3 separate regions of the Homo sapiens genome follow, and regions 2 and 3 are each linked to region 1. The links are contacts of gene promoters, found by promoter capture Hi-C in blood cells and fetal thymus (Javierre and others, 2016). All regions are on one chromosome and are shown on one strand. Each heading gives the region's core, a stretch centred on a gene start or on the middle of the fragment in contact. The rest is flanking DNA. Distances are from core to core; before and after follow the strand shown. Region 1 holds the start of MRPL17 (mitochondrial ribosomal protein L17). Region 2 holds the start of CNGA4 (cyclic nucleotide gated channel subunit alpha 4). Region 3 has its middle 2.2 kb from the start of APBB1.

The links. The method cuts DNA at HindIII sites, captures the fragments that hold promoters and counts their contacts. A CHiCAGO score of 5 or more calls a contact.
Region 2: a fragment that was not itself captured here is called in contact with the fragment with the promoter of MRPL17 in region 1 in 1 of 17 cell types (naive CD4 T cells); the score reaches 5.6 in naive CD4 T cells.
Region 3: a fragment that was not itself captured here is called in contact with the fragment with the promoter of MRPL17 in region 1 in 2 of 17 cell types (non-activated CD4 T cells and naive CD8 T cells); the score reaches 7.4 in non-activated CD4 T cells.

Annotation. Positions count from the first base shown.
Region 1 is chr11:6,682,090-6,685,639 of GRCh38, forward strand. MRPL17 (mitochondrial ribosomal protein L17) reads right to left here and starts at 1,251. Exons shown (of 3, transcript NM_022061.4): 1 at 1,034-1,251; 2 at 658-726; 3 at 1-313. The coding sequence starts at 1,207. The coding sequence ends at 29. RefSeq lists enhancers at 793-1,555, 972-1,411. The HindIII fragment of the contact is 17,410 bases long and covers 1-3,550 here.
Region 2 is chr11:6,236,058-6,239,607 of GRCh38, forward strand. CNGA4 (cyclic nucleotide gated channel subunit alpha 4) reads left to right here and starts at 3,032. Exons shown (of 6, transcript NM_001037329.4): 1 at 3,032-3,211; 2 at 3,327-3,428. The coding sequence starts at 3,150. The HindIII fragment of the contact is 962 bases long and covers 860-1,821 here.
Region 3 is chr11:6,419,496-6,423,045 of GRCh38, forward strand. No RefSeq gene overlaps it. Among named protein-coding and RNA genes, the nearest start is that of APBB1, 2.2 kb to the left of the region's middle. The HindIII fragment of the contact is 1,272 bases long and covers 1,004-2,275 here.

The sequences.
Region 1 (3,550 bases), core at 1-2,500:
TTAAGGGCTGCAGACTCTTCAGATCCAGTTAAATCCCTGGTGTTTGAGCTGTGTGGGAGCTGTGGTTGCTTGCTTCCTGGCTTTGCCTGAGGTCCTGCCGCAAACCCTGCAGCAGCTGGTTTAGGAGTGTAAGGTGGCTGTCTCTGCGAGGCAGAGGCAGGGGTGGGAGGCAATTCCCTTTATACTCGATCACTGCCATCTTGGCCCGATCCAAACTCCGATTTGGGATCTGCAGCATTCTTGTGTAGCCCCCAGTTTGATCTTTGTACCGAGGGGCCAGTACTTGAAACAGCTTTGGGATCAAATCCTTCTCCTAGAGGGAGAATTATCCAAGAGACAGCAGAGTCAGGCAAAACTGCAGAGGCATTTAACTTTACACCATTCCCAAAGGTAAGGTCCATCCACACATAGAAAGACCTCCCCCTCCCCTCGCCAATCTGGCATAGTCAGTGTTACACAAAGGGGTCGTTTATAGGCAGTTGTGCAGAGGTATATTCACATCGACTTCAACTAACTTAAGACACAGTTTCTAATTTAGTTAGCAGCACTGGCCCATAAGTGAGTACCCAAGTTTAATTCTGCATAGTTCTCCTTTTTCCAACCCCCACCCCCAGGGAGCAAAGGGTGGGATTTTGAAGGCAGATAGGTCGCACTCACTGTGAGCCAGAAGTCAGCCATGCGCATGGCTCGTTCGTTAGTGTCTCCCAGCTTCCCATAGTCGATGAGCTGTGAGGACATAACATCACGGATCCAACCGAGCAAGAAAACAAGGTGCCAATCTAATTTCTCTAATGCCGGAAGGCAATCCATTCTTTCCACTAGCCAAGCATCTCCAATCTACGCCACCCCTAACTCCGCAGCCCTAACCAGTCTTCCATTAGAGGCGATGGAGGGGCGGGTTCAGCCCAAGGTTCTGGGGGACTCAGACTTGGGGAATGGTTTACCAGGTTGGTCCCGGTCCCTTTCCACTTGCAGCCGGCTCCGCCCCCTCAGACCAGACCCGCAGAGTGGACAAGAGGGCCGCGCTCCTCACCTTCTCCGCGTAGCCCCTCATTTCGTCCACACGCGCCCATGGTGCCTCGATGCGTTCGTGCCGCACCAGCCCTGTGAGCAAGTTCCGCAACAGATGGATGCGGGACTCGGGACCGAGGCCCATACGGCGAAATACGCGGCCATGGGAGATCGCTGCAGCGACCGACAGCCGCATGTTTCCAACTTCTGCCCGCCCCTTGGAGGCCGGAACTGGAAACTGGAAGGTAGAGCCGGTGGCGGCAATTTCAGGGAACGCATGCGCCTTAGCTCGGAGCGTGGTGAACGTGTTTGCGCATGCGCATCAGAGCCTGCCTCGTTGGCAATCTCGGGAAGGGCGGAGAAACGGTGTTGAGCTTTTCCAGAGGCGGCGAGCTGGGCGGGCTTCAGGCATCCAGAGCGCTCTGTGGCGGCCGAAGAACCAGGCGCCCCCTAGTGTGGGATAAGCGGGCCATCGGGTTTTTTTTGGGGCTGCGTCAGCCAGTGGCATTTAGGGCGATGGGGCGCTCCGCCGCGGAGACTCCTGGGAAAGAGAGCGTCTGAAGAGAAAGGCACCCGGAGGGTTCGGGGTCCTGCGGGCTGACGGCCCTACCGGGTCCAGCAGTGGCCAGCTGGCCTGGTTGACACCTGTACGCATTGTTTTTAACACAGTGATTTTCAGTAGTAATGGTGAGATGGATAATAACGATGCCCGGAAAAGAAACGCAGATAGTGAAATTTTTCTTTTATTGAAGTAATCACTCCAGTTAAAAAAATTACAGCACTAAAGGGAAAAGTAGTAGATTGTTTTTAATTACACCAGTGTGTCTTTTTAAGGGGAAAAAACATACCTACACATTTATGTGTTAATGAACAATAATATTATAGTTTGTTTTTGAGCCTTAACATCTGCAAATTGGCAATGACTGTCAAAATTATTCCTTGTTATGGGTTGAATTGTGTCTTCCCCATGATTCTTCCCGTCCCCAAAAAGCTATGTTAAGTCCTAACCTGCAGTAACTCAGAATGTGACCTTATGTGGAAATAGGGTCATTGCAGATGTCATTTGTTAAGATGAAGTCATGCAGGCATAGGTGGGCGCCTAATCCAAAATGCCTAGTGTCTAGCTAGCTAGATAGATAGACACATATATACGTACATACATATATGCAGGCCGGGCACGGTGGCTCACTCCTGTAATTCCAGCACTTTGGGAGGCCGAGGCGGGCGGATCACCTGAGGTCAGGAATTCGAGACCAGCCTGGCCAACATGGCGAAACCCCGTCTCTACTAAAAACACAAAAATTAGCCGGGCGTGGTGGCTCATGCCTGTAATTCTAGCTACTCGGGAGGCTGAGGCAGGAGAATAGCTTGAACCCGGGAGGTGGAGGTTGCAGTGAGCTGAGATCGGGCACTGCACTCTAGACTGGGCGACAGAGTGAGGCTCTATCTCAAAAAAAAAAAAAAAAAAAATGCGCATGAAGAGAGAGAGATGGACACAGGGTGATGCTGACCAGGTAAAGACAGAGACATACAGGCAGAAAGCCATGTGACCTTGAAAGCAGAGATTATGGAGTCAAGCAGTTGCAAATCAATGAATGAACACCAAGGATTGCTGGAGCACACCTGAAGCCAAGGGAAAGGTATAAAACGCATTCTTTTTCAGATCTGTCAGAGAGCATGACCCTGCTGCTAACACATCGCTTTCTTACTTCTAGCCTCCAGAGCCACAAAACAATAAATTTCTGTTGTTTTAAGTTCCACAGTTTGTGATAGTTTGTTACAGCAGTCTTAGGAAATGAATTCACTCCTCTTTACATGTACATATTCAGTAGACGTATAGATTTGTCACTTTGTCAGCTTATAGGTGACCAAAGAACACTTCTTTGCTAATTTTAATTTTGAAAAGTTTCTTTAATATGAAGGAACAAATATGCAAATAGGAAAAGTCATGAACATATAAATACATTGACAGATTTATACAAATCACACTTCACAATTAAAGAAATTTACAATAAATTACAGAAATTACAATTACCATTCATGTTTTGTTTCTTTGGGAGCAATTCTTGTAGTTTTCAATTGTCTTTGCAGTTGAAAAATTTCACTAAGATGTTTTCACCAGGATATATATATATTTTTTTGAGACGGAGTTTCTTTCTTGTTGCCCAGGCTGGAGTGCAATGGTGCGGTCTCGGCTCACTGCAACCTCCACCTCCTGGGTTCAAGCGATTCTCATGCCTCAGCCTCACAAGTAACTGGGATTACAGGCGCCCACCACCATGCCTGGCTAATTTTTTTTGTATTTTTAGTAGAGACGGGGTTTCACCATGTTGGCCGGGCTGGTCTCGAACTCCTGACCTCAGGTGATCTGCCCGCCTCAGCCTCCCAAAGTGCTGGGATTACAGGTGTGAGCCACTGTGCCCGGCCCACCAGAAAATTTATCATAAATTTCTATTGGTAAAAACTTGTGAAGAGGTTCTTCTTCAGCAAAAATTAGGTGAAATGAAACATTGATCCATTGTCTTAGAAAATGCTTACA
Region 2 (3,550 bases), core at 91-2,590, 450 kb before region 1:
TATGAGAACTCTGTATTATTTTTGCAACTTTTCTGTAAGCCTAAAATTAGTTCAAATAAAAAGTATTTAAAAAGAAATAGAAGTTTCAGACCAAAGGATCAGCATATACCAGGGAAAGGAAGAATGGACAGCATGTGGGAGGTGCTGTAAGAACTGCAATCAGTACAGTGTGTCGGGAGCCTAGGGAACATGTGAGGAAACATTGTGAGATGAGGCTGAAGACATGGACTGGAGAACTTTATAAACCATGTTAAGGAATTTAGATTTTATTTTTGGGATGATAGCTATAAAGAATTTTATACATAGATTGATAGTTATACAGTAACTTTGCAAAAGACCAAACAAGCTGATAAGGCCCAAACTAGAGTAGCAAAAATGCAGAGAAGTGGACATGTGGATTTTTAGAAGGTAGATCACCATGGTTTGATGATTGGGTGGATATAAGAGGAAAATAAGAGGAAGAATTAAAAACTAATGCTTAGTTTATATAAATTCAAAAACAGGTAAAACTAAACTGTGATATTAGAATTCAGGATAGTGATTATTCTTGGAAAAACATTGACTGAAAGGGGCAGAGTGGGGCTCCTGAGGCACTGGTGATGTTCTGTTTCTTGATCTGAGTGCTTGGTTATATGGGTGTGTTCACTTTGTGAAAATGTATTAAGCTATATACTTAAGGATTGTACACCTTTCTCTGTGTTTGTTTGTTCTGGTTACTATGCTATGTGACAAACCAACCCAAACTTAGTGTCATAAAAACAATAGCCATTTTATTATGTGCACAAATTCTGGGAATTTGGACGAGATGCAACAGGAATGGCTTGTCTCTATTCCATGATGTCTGGGGCCTTATTTGTAAAGCTTGAACATCTAGAGGTGGTTTGAGGCTGGTGGCTGGAAGCATCTGGAGGCTTCTTCAGTCACACATCTAATTCCTGGGCTGGGATAATGAAAAAGCTGAACTCATTGGGCAAACTGTCAAACAGAACTTCTCACAATGTGATGGGTAGGTTCCAAGAGGGAACATTCTGAGAGGGAGCTACCAGACAACACGCATTCCAAGAGAACCAGAGGGAAGCTGCATGGCCTTTTATGATCTAGCCTTAGAAGTCACACAACATCACTCCTGCTATACAAACTATCACAAGGGAGTGGTGTCGAAGAATTTGTGACCATTTTTTTTAACTGCCACAACATTATACAGTAAATAGTAATAAATGCTTGTCATAGGTTTTTTTGCTGAAAGGGCATAGATAGGAATTCTAGAAGAAAAAGTGGAGGAAGATAATGAGCTTAGTTATAGACCCAATGGGTTGAAGGTGACCGCGGGATACCCAAGTAGGAACATCCAGTGAGCAGTTAGTCATATAGATAACTGAAACTCAGGGAGAGTTCTCGGGAGCCACTATATGAGAAAGGAAGTCCTGTGGGTGACTGACGTCAATCAGACAGAGTTAGGAGGATGGCAAAAGTAGAAAGCCTAGAACAGAATCCAAGAAAAAAAAAAAACACCATCATAGAAGGAATAGACAGAGGAGCTTATGAAAGACACTAAAAAGAAACAGCAAACCAAGACATTATGGCATTACAAAGGATTTTATTCATTTTGTTGCATTACTTTGAATGTTGTCTTTTTATTTTAACAAGCGTAATACTTTGCAAAAAGAAATTAAGAAGCCATGGGAAAAGAGAGTTTTTCAAAATTTAATTAGGGACCACAGGTTTTTCTTCTAAAACACACTCCAAAAACACAAACCTGATTTTATCACTGAACTGTGAAAAACTCTTCACAGGTTCTCTATTGCCGTTGGGTAAAATCCAAGCTTTATAACATGGCTGACAGAACTCCTCCTGAGCTGGCCTCTGTCTATCATTCAACCTCATCTCTCACCACTACCCGCTAGGCCCTCTAAAATAAGCCAATTGATATTTGCCCAGTCACCCACGCTTTTTGATATCTCTATGCCTTTGCCCACTCTGTGCATTCTGCCTCTAGTGCTCTTCACCCTCCCATCTCTGTACCCAACTCCTATTCATCCTGCAGAACCCAGGCTCTGTAGGGCCACTTCATGTGTACTATAATAGCCTTCCGTGTATCCAGCTAACAGAGTACTCATCAGCAGCCTGGCAATGACTGCTGCTGTTTAGTTACCTCATGTGTAATTACCTGCTGGCCTGACTATTTCACCTAGCAGACTGTGAGCTTCTGGAGAAGGGGGAGCGTGTCTTATTCATCTCCAATTCCTAGTATTTAGCACAATATTGGCCTGGCACACAGAACACCTGCCTATGGGTGTTCTGATTTTGATTTGTTGACTGAGAAAGATGATAGCAGTGAAAGGAACATCAGGTTGAGGGAGAAATTGTAGGGTTTTTGTTTGTTTTGATATAGGAGATATTGAAGCAGGTTCACAAAAAGAGAAAAGTTGAAAGATTGGGGACCATAAAACACATGGAATGGTTGGTAGGATCAGGCACTAGAAGTCACAAGAAGGATATGAGGACAAAAGCACCATAGGATGGCCCCTATCACACTACCTATGAGAATGGTGTGATGGGGGAAGGCGTATGTGGAGGTAGATAAGGGTAGGAAGTAGGTTACAAAAATAGAGCTCACTTCTCATGTGAGAGGCATCTCTTTGTCCCTGGAGAATAGTTTAGCACCTGACATAGATAAGCCATTCAGTAATAGTTGTTAAATAAATAAATAGTGAGGCCCAAATAGAATTTGCAAAGATAAAACAGAGTGTTTGATCCTACACTAAAACTGAGGTCTTCTGACCCAGAGGACACCTATGTAGCTCAGTTGCTGTGGAAAGAGGGGAGGAGGAAAACAGAGACAAGACTCAGGCTTCCCTCTGAGGCATGCACCCCCACCTTCTCCAGGGATCTCATTAGAGGTGTTTAGCTGGGCAGGTGTAAGCCCAGGCCCTGGGAGACAGGGCAGAGTGCTAGAGCTAGACTGTCTCCACCCCTTCAGTAGCGCTAGCTCTGGTTGTGTTGCTAAGAGCCCCAAAGACAAAGAAGTCACAGCAGAAGCCCAACAGCAGCCTCCTTCAGGCAGTCAGGCACTAGTGCCCAACTCCAGAAGTCCCCTACAGGCAGAGAGGGTGTGGACATCTCACACCCCAGCACCAGACCACAGAACCATGAGCCAGGACACCAAAGTGAAGACAACAGAGTCCAGTCCCCCAGCCCCATCCAAGGCCAGGTGAGAAGTCCTGGTCCCTTGTGTGGGATCTCTCCTCATTCCTCTTGGTGCCCCAGTCACAACTACAGCTTTGAATGCCTGGTGAATAAATGAAGCAAGACTTTCTTTCTTACAGGAAGTTGCTGCCTGTCCTGGACCCATCTGGGGATTACTACTACTGGTGGCTGAACACAATGGTCTTCCCAGTCATGTATAACCTCATCATCCTCGTGTGCAGGTATGGCAGCGGTGCTAAGGGAGGGGCTGGAAGCCAAAAAGAGGACTAAAGAGAGGTCAAGGAGAAGGGCAGACCCTTGGTGGGGCAGGAGGAGCAATTCCCATGGGAGGGCCTGAGGCAGA
Region 3 (3,550 bases), core at 390-2,889, 260 kb before region 1:
CCTGACGTCCTGGTGGGGAGGCTCTGAGGACACAGCGTTGCTCATAATAATAGCTCGTATTTATTGACCACTTACACCGTGCCGGGCTCTCTATTAAACCGTTAACGCGCATTAATCTTCACATCAGCTCTGTAAAATCACCAGAATTATTATCCTCATTTTTCAGAGGCTGAGGCTAAGATTAAGAGAGGTAAAGCGACTTGCCCGCAGTCACAGTTAGTGATGAATTTAGACTGGAACTCCGATGTTTCTTGACACTGAAATACCTCTGCTGCTGAGCATAAAGCTGACATCAAGGCCTGGAAAATGTCAAGAATACATTGCTCCCCGGTAGAAATTCACAAGGAAGGGGATATTGTGAATGAAAAGTGTAAAGATGTAAGGAAGATGGTGGGGTGCAATACTTACTACAGACCCTCCCTGGATAGTGGGATACATCCCAATGGTCAGATCAGTGACCCAGAGGCCATCAAGGATAATGAGAGGTTATATTACCATCCAGAAAGCCTCTACATGCTAATCCCTCTCAGGTGCCTAAAACTAAAGATATCCAAATCTGAGTTCGTTCTTTCTTTCAAGGCAGGGTCTCACTCTGTCACCCAGGGGCAAGATCATGGCTCTCTGAAGCCTCAGCCTCCAGGGCTCAGATTCCTCCCGCCTCAGCCCCCGGAGTACCTGGGCCACAGACATGTGCCACCGCGCCTGGCTTTTTGTATTTTAGTAGAGAGGGGGTCTCACTGTGTTCCCCAGGCTGGTCTGGAACTCCTGTGTTCAAGCGATCCTCCCACCTCGGCCTCCCAAAGTGCTGAGATTACAGGCGTCAGACACAGTGTCCAGCCTCAATTTATTGTTTCATCCCCCTTTATTAGTCTTTTAAGGAGTTTCACTGGGGTGAAAAAGAACCCTCTTCAACACACACAACACAACACACATCCCACACTGGACACAACTCCATTCCATCCATTCCAATGAATGACACCAACTACTGGCTTCCCAAGCCAGAAGCTTCAAAGTCATCTTTGAATATACTTTTATTTTACTTGTGGTAAATATAAATGTTTTAACTTTTTATTATGGCAAATTTCCAATATATACTAAAGCAGACAGAACAATATAATGAACCCTCATATACCTATCATTCAGTTTCAACAATTATGAATTCACAACCAATAGTTTATAATGATTTGACAAATGCCTATGATATATGAACCATGTATCAGGTCCCAAGCCAGGCCCTAGGGATCTAAAGACGAATCAGATTTGACTGCATCTCACCTGGAGGAAATGACATCTGACCTGGGTTCTTGAAAGATGAAGAAGAATTACCCAGAAGAACAAAAGTGTCCTCATTCATTCATTCATTCATTTTCTTTCATCAAATAATTACTATGTATGAGGTACTGTCCTTGGTGCTAGCAACAGGTCAAGAAACAAGATACAGTTCCGTCTCTCATACAGCTTGAAATTTAACAGGGGAAAGAGACATTAAATATGTAATTAGGAATGTGATGAGTGTCTTGAAGGAGATGTACCGGGAGCTATGTGAGTGGGCTTAATTTGGCCTGGGAAGTTTAGGAGGCTTTCATAGGAAGTGACAATTCAGTGAGGGAAAGGGATGAAGGAGCTAGAGGTCAGCCAGGAGAAGAGAAAAGTATTCCAAGTAGCAGGAGAAATACAGGAAGGTCAGTATGGGTGTTGATATAGTTTGGATATTTGTCCCTGATCAAATCTCATGTTGAATTGTAATCCCCAATGCTGGAGGTGGGGTCTGGTGGGAGGTGTTCAGGTCGTAGGGGTGGATCTCTCATGGCTTGGTGCTGTCTTCCCCATGATGAGTGAGTTCTTGTGAGATCCGGTTATTTAAAAGTGTGTGGCATGGCCAGGCGTGGTGGCTCAGGCCTGTAATCCCAGCACTTTGGGAGGCCAAGGTGGGCAGATCAACTTGAGACCAGGAGTTCGAGAACAGCCTGGTCCACATGGTGAAATCCCATCTCTATTAAAAACACAAAAAAATTAGCTGGGCATGGTGGCGGGCACCTGTAGTCCCAGCTACTTGGAAGGCTGAGGCAGGAGAATTACTTGAACCCAGGAGGCGGAGGCTGCAGTGAACCGAGATCACGCCACTGCACTCCAGCCTGGGCAGCAGAGTGAAACTCCATCTCAAATAAATAAATAAATAAATAAATAGTGTATGGCACCTCTCCCCCCACACTCTCTTGCTTCTGATCAGCCATGTGGGATGCCTGCTCCCACTTTGCTTTCTGCCATGAGTAAAAGCTTCCTGAGGACCCCCTGGAAGCCAAGCAGATGCTGGTGCTATGTTTCCTGTATAGCCTGCAGAACTGTGAGCCGATTAAACCTCTTTTCTTTTCTTTTTTTTTTTTTTTTTTTGAGACAGAGTCTCGCTCTGTCCCCCAGGCTGGAGTGCAGTGGCGCAATCTCGGCTCACTGCAATCTCCGCCTCCCGGGTTCACACCATTCTCCTGCCTCAGCCTCCCAAGTAGCTGGGACTACAGGCACCCACTGCCATGCCCAGCTAATTTTTTGTGTTTTTAGTAGAGATGGGGTTTCACCGTGTTAGCCAGGATGGTCTCAATCTCCTGACCTCGTGATCCGCCCGCCTTGGCCTCCCAAAGTGCTGGGATAACAGGCATAAGCCACCACACCTGGCCCTAAACCTCTTTTCTTTATAAATTACCCAGTCTCAAGTATTTACTTACAGCAACACAAGAACAGCCTAACAGTTGTGATAGTGGAGAATGGCATAAGATGAAATAGGAAGGTGGGAAAGTGCCAGATCAAGGAGGGCCTTATATGCTGAGCTAAGGGTTTGACCTTTATTTTAAGGGCAATGGAAAATCATGGAAGGGTTTGAAGCAGGAGAGGGGCATGTTCACACTCGCATTTTAGAAGATCGCTTTCAGCTCCTGAGGAAGAATAGATAGGTGGAAAGCAAAATTGGAAGAATATAGACCAGTTAGGAAGCAAGAGACCAGGTTAAAGATGATGATGGCTTGGACTCTGGTGGTGGGACTAGGGATGGAGAAAATTGCATAGGTTTAATAAATATTCAAGAGGTAGAATTCCCAGAAATCAGTGATCAGTTGGTTGATTAGCTATGGAATTGTAGATTTAAAAAATGACATCTAGATTTATTTTTGAGAAAATGAAAAAAAAAATCCAGAAGTATCACCCATTTACAGATAGCCCACCAAAATATTTGTCTTCCCAATCTCATTGAGCAGGAAGGCTGCAGTATTCAGGGAAATCTCTTCAGGTAAGAAGGACATAGATTGCATGATGAGGTTGAAGGGAGGACTCTAATTAGCTAGGGATGCCCATGTGCAGTTCACATGGGCATCTTTTTCCTTATGTATTTGACCCGCAGGCGATCTTCCTGAATTCCTGATCTCCTCTGAGGTCTGCAAAGTCTCCTGACCAATGGGGAATCAACCTGTGCCTTTCACCCATCCTTTCCCTACTGTAATCTCTTCCCTCTTCTGATGCTTTCTATGGTGTGGGAGCAACCAATGAATAGCCTATGAGCCAC